Linked DNA regions of Homo sapiens: region 1 is linked to region 2. Evidence: promoter capture Hi-C in human tissues and cell types (Jung and others, 2019). All regions are on one chromosome and are shown on one strand. Each heading gives the region's core, a stretch centred on a gene start or on the middle of the fragment in contact. The rest is flanking DNA. Distances are from core to core; before and after follow the strand shown.

Region 1 (5,652 bases), core at 1,786-4,285, 82 kb before region 2:
TACTTCCTGGAACCATGAGAATAAATGTTTGTTATTTAAGCCACCCAGGATTCTGTTTTAGCAGTCAGAACTGACTAAGACACAAGATCTCAAGCGATTCTGATGCACACTAAAGTGTGAGAGTCACCAAAATAACAATAACACACTTCCCAGTAGATTAATCTGAGTGACATAATATTGAAAAAATGGGTCATAAGTGCCATATAAAATAAAAACTTCAAAAATATACCTGAATGGTATATCTTATAACCAAAAACCTCCAAAATTGACTAATATGTTATAATTTTGAAATTGAAAGATAATCAAAACTCAAAATATGGCAATTTGTCTAGCAGCTCCTCCTGGTGGTATGAGATGTCTAACATTTTCATAACAGGAAAATGCTCCCAAGATAAAATGGTGCTGTAACAGGAATACAATATTTTCTACTTGAAAAAATAAAATTTTTAAATATTGTTTCAAGTTTATAATGTCACCAACCAATCTGGTCAATTCAATTAATACATGTACTTCTATGTACTTACAAGACCTAAAAAAAAAAAGGTTCCTTAAAAAGAAAAAAAAAGACACTGCCAGGAGCTGATGATGATCAATGACTGAGACAAACTCCTGTTTAGCTAATTAGAACCACTGATGTGCAATAATGATGTGAGCGAAGAATATTTGCCGACTTCTTTAGAATGAAAAATGAAGCGAAGAGAGGCTGTCAAATCTGTACAACTTTTAAGCACCAATCATTTTTCCCAAGAGTACTTCCCATTTAAACATTTTAACAATGCTGTACTTAGCCACATGAATTACCACGCTAACTTTCAGTCATTTTTCTAAGCTCAAAAATCTGAGAAATTATTCTGAATCATTAAGAAACAAAATTTTATTATGTTATAGACCATGCCATATATTATACACTACAACAGGATCATATTTTCTGGGTTTGAGCCCACTTTTAATGAGATGTCAAAATGAAATATTAGAGTCTAAAAAAACATCCAACTATAAATGAGGCAGTGATATTGGTCTGAATTTATAAACAAAATAAAAAAGCAAAACTTACTGAAGTTGGTTATTTTTGATTTACAGACATAAATAACACACAAAATAAAGCTATTTATTGGACTAACGTTTTCTTTCATTTGAGTAGAGAACCTATTAAAATGCAGATTTTATACATATCAATGGTTTGCAATTTAAACAATTCCCAATTTCTAGTAAACACTAAGATTCTAAAACAGTAAGACTTAATAACAGAAGTTCAGAGAAATCAAAGTTATGCCATCATCAAATTATCCATTTATTCATGAACTATTTTATAAGTATTTCTTCTTATGAATACGCATAGTGAATTACTGGAATGGCATCTATAAACAATATAACAATAATAAAACTTGAAAAAGAGGTTGCAAAAATATTGTACAAACACATTTTACTCCACAGTAAAAGCAAATATTTAAAAAAAGAAAACTTTAATATGTGGAATAAAAATAATTCAACAGATCTTAATTCATGTAAAAACTTTGATATAAAATGTTTTAAAGGCTCAAGTATAGTTAATATATCTACTTTGCTTTTATACAAAACTGAGTTTTTATTGTATAATCCAGAATTTAGAACTATTATATTTAATTTCCAGTATAAAATACATGTTTAAAATTATATTTGAAAGCCAAAACTTGTGCTGGAGAAGTTGGCAAACGACAAATGATGGACATTTTTTTCCTTATTCAATCAGACTAAAATGCAGAAGATTATCAGGCTAAGATGTGAATCTGAATCTGTAAATTATGGAGTACAGATGAACCCTTTAAACAAAGAAGCAACAATTCAAAAGAACACATCTGCTTATATTAAATATAGTATTAAATAAGATCAGATACTCTTTATATATCAGATACTCATTCAACACCATTTCTAAATATACAAAGCTGAAACTCAAAACAAAACCTTTTTCTGTTTTATAGTTAGAAATTAAGTGACTATTTCCTGATTTTCTTATATTTCATCTCTTTTAACTATTTGTCCAGATATTTCTGCATATACTCAACATTTATTATGTAAAACAACATAAAAGAGTAGGAAAAGATTGTGTATTATATGCCTTTTATGATTGTGCATTATATGCCTTTCATGATTGTGCAAATATTTTTCACCCAGAATCTAGAAGTTTCTTCCAGTGTTTGAAAATCAGCACTTCAGAACAGACTGTTTTAACATCTGCACATCACCAGGGTTGCCCCCAAGGATTTTTAAATGATGCCTGCCTGTGCTGAATAAAGTGCTAACTTGCACCTTGCATTTCAAACTGTGTCCTGAGCAGCCATCCAGTTGGTACAACACCAGCTGAATTCCCACAGGCCACTGTTCACTCAGGCTTGACTACAATTATCATGTCAATATTTTGTGCTCCGATATGCAGATATGCACACATGCAAGCTGCATAATACTTTCTTCCCCATGGAATGTTGAATTACGTTCAATGTTCTGGGAATTTTTAAGAAAACAGAAATAAACTCTCAACAAATAAAGGTGATCACAATTATTTTACCTTAAAAACAAAAGCTATGTTTCTGTACCACCTTCTGCCATGTGTATAAAGATTAAATTTTTAAAGTAACTATTCCTTACTATAATCTCACAATTATTTAATTTAAAAATCTTCATAAAAGTTAAAAGACTATTTGGTTAAGCTTCCTGCATCTATTGTAAAAGTTTGAATGTGATTCTTCATGTTTATTGCAAGTACTCTCACCTTGAACATTAGAGTGGTTCCAATTAAACACCTTTCAGTTAGTTCCCATGACCATCCATCCACATCCCTGCCTAGGCAATCATGGCTCTTGCAACACGAAAAGTGCTCAGCAAAAATACATTTATGCCCTGGGTGGAACTGCCTGGCAGCATTGCTACCAGATGGCATAATTCTGGCAGCTACAGTTCTGGGGTCTCCAAACAGCCACGCTACTATCATGCTCCAAACTGCAACCCCTTTGCAGCCTATGTTGGCTTAATACACATGGGACAGGGTACAACCATATAGCAGCTGTGTAACCCAAGTGCTTTAGAGTGGAAAGGAGCAGGAGGGAGGTGGTCCCAGTAGTGAGAGAATATAACATAAACTTACAGAAATAGTCTCCCTATCAAACATGCAAACATGTAAACTTTAACTCTAAAAATTGAAATAAAATAAGAAATAGAAATAAAAATAAGACAATCTCTCCTTTACTATGAAATTAAATCTTTGAACCAAGTGTATCAAGGATATAGCACACATATCCTTGATAAATGTATCAATAAAATCTTAATAAACCGGCCAATAAAAACATGTCAATAAAATCTAAAAATCATCTTGCCTTTATTCCCTTTTACCATTCTAATTTTCCAGAATTGAGTTTTCATTACCAAACAGGAGGAGGAAAAGAACTGAAAATAGGAAAGTGAGCACAAGAAAAAAGTATTAACAAGTCTACAAAAAAAGTACAGAATATTAAAAAGAAAGCAAACCACATCTTCAAAATTTACACAACTAGCAAGCCAGGATTACAAATCCAGTTACCTGACTCAACGGCTTGTGTTCTTAACCACTAATTATTAAAAATAGCCTGGGGGACAGTTCCAAGTTGGTCAAATAGGAACAGCTCCAGTCTACAGCTCCAAGAGTGAGCAACTCAGAAGATGGGTGATTTCTGCATTTCCAACTGAGGTAACGGGTTCAACTCACTGGGGCTTGTCAGATAGTGGGTGCAGGACAGTGGGTGCAGCCCACCGAATGTGAGCCAAAGCAGGGTGAGGCACTGCCTCACCCGGGAAGTGTAAGGGGTCAGGGATTTCCCTTTCCTAGCAAACGGAAGCTGTGACAACCAGCACCTGGAAAATCAGGTCACTCCCACCCTAATACTGCGCTTTTCCAACGGTCTTAGCATACGGCACACCAGGAGATTATACCCCGCGCCTGGCTCAGAGGGTCCCACACCCACGGAGCCTCGCTCATTGCTAGCACAGCAGTCTGAGATCGAACTGCAAGGTGGCAGCGAGGCTGGAGAAGGGGTGCCCACCATTGCTGAGGCTTGAGTAGGTAAACAAAGCGGCCAAGAAGCTCGAACTGCGTGGAGCCCACCGCAGTTCAAGGAGGCCTGCCAGCCTCCACAGACTCCACCCCTGGGGGCAGGGCATAGCCAAACAAAAGGCAGCAGAAATCTCTGCAGACTTAAATGTCCCTGTCTGACAGCTTTGAAGAGAGCAGTCGTTCTCCCAGTATGGAGTGTGAGATCTGAGAATGGTCAAACTGCCTCCTCAAGTGGTTCCCTGACCCCCGAGTAGCCTAACTGGGAGGCACCCCCTAGTAGGGGCAGACTGACACCTCACATGTCTGGGTACTCCTCTGAGATGAAGCTTCCAGAGGAATGATCAGGCAGCAACATTTGCTGTTCAGCAAAATTCGCTGTTCTGCAGCCTCCGCTGCTGACACCCAGGCAAAGAGGTTCTGCAGTGACCTCCAATAAACTCCAACAGACATGCAGCTAATGGTCCTGACTGTTAGAAGGAGAACTAACAAACAGAAAGGACATCCACACCAAAACCCCATCTGTACGTCACCATCATCAAAGACCAAAGGTAGATAAAACTACAAAGATGGGGAAAAAACAGAGCAGAAAAGCTGAAAATTCTAAAAATCAGAGCTCCTCTCCTCCTCCAAAGGAATGCAGCTCCTCGCCAGCAACGGAACAAAGCTGGATGGAGAATCACTTTAACGAGTTGAGAAAAGAAGGCTTCAGACAATCAAACTTCTCCCAGCTAAAGGAGGAAGTTCGAACCCATCACAAAGAAGCTAAAAACCTTCAAAAAAGATTAGACAAATGGCTAACTAGAATAACCAGTGTACAGAAGTCCTTAAATGACCTGATGGAGCTGAAAACCATGGCACGAGGACTACGTAATGAATGCACAAGTTTCAGTAGCCAATTTGATCAACTGGAAGAAAGGGTATCAGTGATTGAAGATCAAATGAATGAAATGAAGTGAGAAGAGAAGTTTAGAGAAAAAAGTAAAAAGAAATGAACAAAGCCTCCAAGAAATACATGACTATGTGAAAAGACCAAATCTACATCTAATTGGTGTACCTGAAAATGATGGGGACAATGGAACCAAGATGGAAAACACTCTGCAGGATATTATCCAGAAGAACTTCCCCAACCTAGTGAGGCAGGCCAACATTCAAATTCAGGAAATACAGAGAACGCCACAAAGATACTCCTCGAGAAGAGCAACTCCAAGACACATAATTGTCAGATTCACCAAAGTTGAAATGACGGAAAAAATATTAAGGGCAGCCAGAGAGAAAGGTCGGGTTACCCACAAAGGGAAGCCCATCAGAATAACAGCAGATCTCCTGGCAGAAACTCTGCAAGCCAGAAGAGAGTGGGTGCCTATATTCAACATTCTTAAAGAAAATAATTTTCAACCCAGAATTTCATATCCAGCCAAACTAAGCTTCATAAGTGAAGGAGAAATAAAATACTTTACAGACAAGCAAATGCTGAGAGATTTTGTCACCACCAGGCCTGCCCTACAAGACCTCCTGAAGGAAGCACTAAACATGGAAAGGAACAACCGGTACCAGTCACTGCAAAAACATGCCAAAGTGTAAAGACCATCGAG
Region 2 (5,509 bases), core at 1,560-4,059:
ACATTTGATTGCTTTCTATTACATGCTTATTCTGAGGCATTCCAATGATGTAGAATGGTATGGGGAATTACTCAAACTTCACCAAGCACACATCACTGAATTCCCATAAGTTGAATGTGAAAGCAAAACAAATTAAATGAAGCTACTACTTATGACCATGGACTAATTAGCAGTGTTCTTTTTCCTAAACTGTATGTTTCAAGCCTTGTTGGGTTCTGAAATTAATTTAGATCTGGACAGCATTTTTTAAAGGAATAGAACTGAAAAAATATCAGCCCACACAGTATTAGGGCATGTATTCTTTCTGAAAATATATGTTTGTATATGTGTGTACTTACTAGATTGAGATACAAAATTTTACTTCGAGTTGTAATTTTCAGCAGTTTTAATGCTATGTATTCTTGGGTACTGTGATCTCTAGCTGAATAAATAAGCGGGAGAGTATACTTTAAAAGATATAAAAGTGAATATTTAATCACCTAAATGCTTTTTACAAAACAATTGGGAGTTCAATTACTATTTTTCCCCAAGATTCCCGAAGAGCAGGAGTCTGATTTGACTAAGATTTTTATGGTGCGGGATACTGCCTACAATTATATAAGAGTATTAATATTACAAAATCTAAGAGATCATCATTCTAGACTATTATGACCATCTCTGTATTCTTACATTTGCCAAGAGTATGTCAATCATTTTCCTAGTCTATATATGTCCGAGGTCACAAAAGCCAACACCATGTTTGGAGCCACATTTTTAAAGAATGTAAGTATTTGTGGGAAGAGGTTCATCAGGCTGTTTCCAATAGACTGACTTCCTTAACCAAGTCGGTCATAAAAAAGTATCTTAGCTCTTTAGCCAGCTAAAGGCCTAACTATGTGGGGAGGCAGAAGTGGGAGGAAAGAGTGCGGAAAATATGCCAAAGAGTGTCTTAGATTAGGACTCAGAGTATCAAAGGCCTTTATCATGGGTTCACATCTTAAAACTCCCCAAAGGGTGAGGTCTGCAGATGACAAATGCTTCAATTCATTGTTGTCATTTATTTATCCCTTTGCTCCTTATCCAACGAAGAACAGAAAAATGGTAAAACGAAAAGAGGGCACCATATTAAATGTCCCAACCTTGTTTAACCAAAGGCACATTCAATTTGAAGATGGTCCCATTTTTACACCCTTCACTCAGTCAGCAAGGACCTATAAAATGGGCAAAAGAATCCAACAGAACAAACTATGAGAGAATGAATTTCTGTAATCCCAGCACTTTGGAAGGCCAAGGCTGGCGGACCACGAGGTCAGGAGATCGAGACTGTCCTGGCTAACACGGTGAAACCCCATCTCTACTAAAAATACAAAAAATTAGCCAGGCGTGGTGGCGGACACCTGTAGTCCCAGCTATTCGGGAGGCTGAGGCTGGAGAATGGCGTGAACCCGGGAGGCGGAGCTTGCAGTGAGCTGAGACTGCACCACTGCACTCCAGCCTGGGCGACAGAGAATGAATTTCATGAACTGTTTTATTAAACTGATGATACTGTTCACAAAGTTACTTTGATGTTCAGCAGCTCCTAATTGGTTTCTAAGTTGAAGACAGAGTGACTTAAAGATCTACTGTTCAGTGAGTTTCCCACATCCAATCTCCCAACCCTATCTAAAGGTTCTGGTAAAATCAAAAGAGATGATGGTAAGGATGCAAAACTAAAGGAAAATTCAATCTCTTTGAACATGAGTATAGTCAAGTCCATCCTTACAAAAACTCTACAAACAGGAAAGTAATTTTAATGCAATTGATTTAGCAAATGTTTTTCACTGGCAAGATCACATGAAAATGTGATTTCTCACTCAAGGACCGCGGAATTACCATAGCTGGTTAATAAACAAGTACCAAGCATCATCTATTGTTAAGTTCCCGGCTCTGAGACTTTCTAAACGTTACTCGTCTGTGTTTACAACTTAAGTTTGACTGGGTAAAAACAAAGCCAAGTGTGGGTTTGAAATTTTAAAAACAGGCTCCTTCATCGATGGATTTTACTCTAACCGAAGTGTTTACACTTTCCTGTTCATTTCAACTAGTGGACTGCATGTCACTCCTGGGCCCCCGGCAGGTATCAGCTACCGTCACCACCAAGAACTTGGGCTTGGGGGGGAAGCGGAGAGGATGCGACTGCGAGTATCCAAGTGACCAAAACCAAACCCGGGCGCGGAGGCGAAGCCTGTCTGGCCGCAGTTCGGAAAGGGGCAGGGGCCCGGGTTTGGGGAGCCGGGCGCAGCCGCGTCCCTCCAGCCCCCGGCCGCGAGCGAAGCAGGGTGTGCATCTGCCAGGGAGCGTCGCTGGGCGGGGTAGGTCCCAAGGCAGAGGGAGAAAGGCGCGCCTCCCCACGGGTCCCGGCCCCGCTGTGGTGGGGAAAGGGGGACTGCGAGACTCCTCGATACCTGACACAGGGCCAACTCCTCCTTTAGGCTGCTCAGCTCTTCCTCCAGCAGCTGCGTCCGGGTCACCATCGCCTCCTCTACCGAGATGCCCTCTAGCCGTCTGGACCCCATGGGCGCGCTGAGGAGGGGAGCATGAGCCGGAGCTGCCCCCCCAGGCCCTCGCCGGCCCCCTGACCCTTCTTCACCCACCCAGATTTTATCACTTTCGTCCGCGACCACCTCCCGCGCTGCGCCGGCAAAACCCGAGGCCTCGCTGCGCATTGCGTGTACTTCAGCTCCCCGCCCAACACGTGGGGACCTGGGGCCCAGCTGTCGCGCTGGGGGCGAAGGGTGCGGTGAGGGAGGCGAACGCGCCGCCATGGCTGCGGCTGCTAACGGGTCAAGTTCCCTGTTGGAAACTCCACCTCCCTTTCCCCAACCCGGCGAGCCCGGAACGCCGAACCGCGCATGCGCGAGGCTTTTCCCGCCTTGGCCCGCGGTGTCCCGTGTTCTCTGGTCCTGGCCGGCTTCCCGCGGGCAATGCGCCCAGCGCGAGCCTTGGGGTACGCACGCGCCGTGGCCCGAAAGGGTAAGGCCGGTCCGCCGGGCAGGCCATCCCAGCGTCCTGTGCCTGAGTCCTTGGCCAGGATCGCCTGGATTTCCCGCCCACCTAAAGCCCTGCCTGCCACTTACATCCCACCTCTTAAAGCCTTCCTTGACAAGCCCCCAGCCCCAAATGATCCTTAACTGTGAAATCCCTCTCCTTCAAGGCCCCTGCCAACTCGTGTGACACGTTTCATTGACCGCCCTGGAGTGTCAGTTACACGGCTAATCTCCCCAGCCCTGTTGTAAGCTCCTTGAGGATCAAGGAATACGTTTTACACTTAAGTGTTTTCTTCACACCCCTTGGCAAAACTGCTTTAGTACAGCTGACATCCAGCTGACTAATGTCAAGGAGATGTGGAAAGCCTTGTGCTGATCTGGGACTATCAAGCAGGTTTCCAACTTGAATGATGATCCTTTGTACACCCTTTGTCTTTTGTTTTGCAGGAGTCATGATTTCCTTTGAGTTTTTATGTCAGCTTCTTTATGCGTTGGCTGGATATCAGAGGAAGTGTAGCCCACATTGCTGAACAGTTTGGGTCCTTGGAGCAGTTTGAAATCAGTAATTTGGAGCGTGGATGAAGAAACAAGACCTACTTTATCTTTTGTTCTCTTTTTTTTCTTTTTCTTCTGGCTTTCTTTATAAACTTCAAATAGGTAGTAATCGTATCTTTCTTTGCCCTTCAAATACTTTGTTACTATTGATAAGATTAATGAGATGCATATTGAGCTGGCACCAGAACATCCCTGAAAGTTAGAACTGCCCTCTTCTTCAGAAAGGGTTCCAGAATACTTGGGGAAAGCTGAGATGGGGGTTGAGAGCAGAAGTAGAGAGATGACCACTTTACTGTTAACTTCATTTAACCAAAATATCACCATCTCTGCATGAGAATCTAGTCAGGATGCCAAAAGACACCCTCCCAATTAGAATCCTGCCAAGGCAACCAAGATAAGTGGACTTCTTTCAAACTGAAGGTGAATTCCTCACAAAAACTTATTAAAGAGTACATTAGAAAAAGTATGTTTATAAGCCTGTCTTAGAACTAGCTAACCTACTGAACATTTACCATATGCTGAGTCCAGTGCTAAGCACTTTTCATATATGAACTCACTTAATACATATGTCACCTTCAATTAGATTATTATATATCTCCATTTTTACTAGTGAGGAAACAGACTTGCAAGGTTACTGTAACTTCTCTGAAGTGCCATGTCTGGTATCAGAAAAGCTAGGCTTTGAATTCACTGAATTCCACTTAACTCTGAAAACCTGTACTTTGATCGCTACCCTGTCTCCACACCTGTGACTTGAAATACAACATTTGGTCTTGATAGTCTGTGAGATTTCACTAGACTTAAGACTGGGAAGTCTAACCACATAAGTTACGTGTTTGGCCCCAAATCAGTATTAATGCACATTTTTAATTGCTGTATGTCATTCACTCAAAAGGACATCATTTCACCTGATCATAAAAAGATCCTTTTGAAAAGCAGTGGTATAAATATGTATATGTGACCTCCCAAAAGGATAATATCCTGACTCTTTGACTAGGCATTTTTTTAAATTTTGTCTTTATTGGAGCAAAATACACAAAATACACAACATAAAATTTACCATCGTAGGCATTTTAAATGGCTACAAATAGGCCAGGCGTGGTAGCTCACGACTGCAATCCCAGCACTTTGGGAGGCCGAGGCTGGTGGATCACTTGAGACCAGGAGTTCGAGACCAGCCTGGACAACATAGTGAAACCCCGTCTCTGCTAAAAATACAAAAATTAGCTGGGAGTGGTGGTGCATTCCCGTAATCCCAGCTACTAGAGAGGCCACGGCAGGAGAATCATTGGAACACGGGAGGCAGAGGTTGCAAACAGCCAAGATCATACCACTGCACTCCAGCCTGGGTGATAAAGCAAGACTGTCTCAAAAAATAAATAAATAAATAAAATGGCTACAAATAAAAAACAATTCAGCAGCATTAACTACATTCACCATGTTAGGCAACCACCACCACTATCTGGTTCCAGAATATTTTCATCACCGGAGGCGGAAACCACATACCCACATTAGTCTCTCCACATTCTCACTGCCCCCGAGCCCCAAGCAACCATTAATTCCCTTTATGTCTCTACGGTTTTGCCTGTTTGGGATATTTCATATCAATGGAACCATATAATATGTGGCCTTTTGTGTCTGTTTTCTTTTATTAGCATAATGTTTTCAAGGTTCATCTATGTTATGGCATGTATTAGTACTTCATTCTTTTTTATAGCTGAAAATATACCATTGTATGGATATCCTCCATTTTGTTTATCCATTCATCTGTTAATGGACCTTTGGGTTCTTTCTGCCTTTTGCCTATTGTGAACAGAGCTGCTATAAACATTCACGTACAGGTTTTTGTCTGAACATTTATGTTCAATTTTTTGTTTATATACCTATGAGTAGAATGTCTAGGTCATATGTTTAATTTACTGAGGAATCACCAAACTCTTTTCCACAGT

Evidence for each region. Contacts are between HindIII fragments. The study calls those that stand out against the background at their distance.
Region 1: a contact is called between a fragment that was not itself captured here and the fragment with the promoter of CNTLN in region 2, in 2 of the 25 tissues and cell types used here (H1 embryonic stem cells and lymphoblastoid cells).

Annotation. Positions count from the first base shown.
Region 1 is chr9:17,214,148-17,219,799 of GRCh38, reverse strand. The region is part of intron 2 of CNTLN (centlein); the gene reads right to left. Among named protein-coding and RNA genes, the nearest start is that of CNTLN, 82 kb to the right of the region's middle. The HindIII fragment of the contact is 6,789 bases long and covers 1-5,652 here.
Region 2 is chr9:17,132,340-17,137,848 of GRCh38, reverse strand. It overlaps CNTLN (centlein), which reads right to left and starts at 2,809. Exons shown (of 26, transcript NM_017738.4): 1 at 2,424-2,809. The coding sequence starts at 2,783. RefSeq lists an enhancer at 1,965-2,528. The HindIII fragment of the contact is 19,584 bases long and covers 1-5,509 here.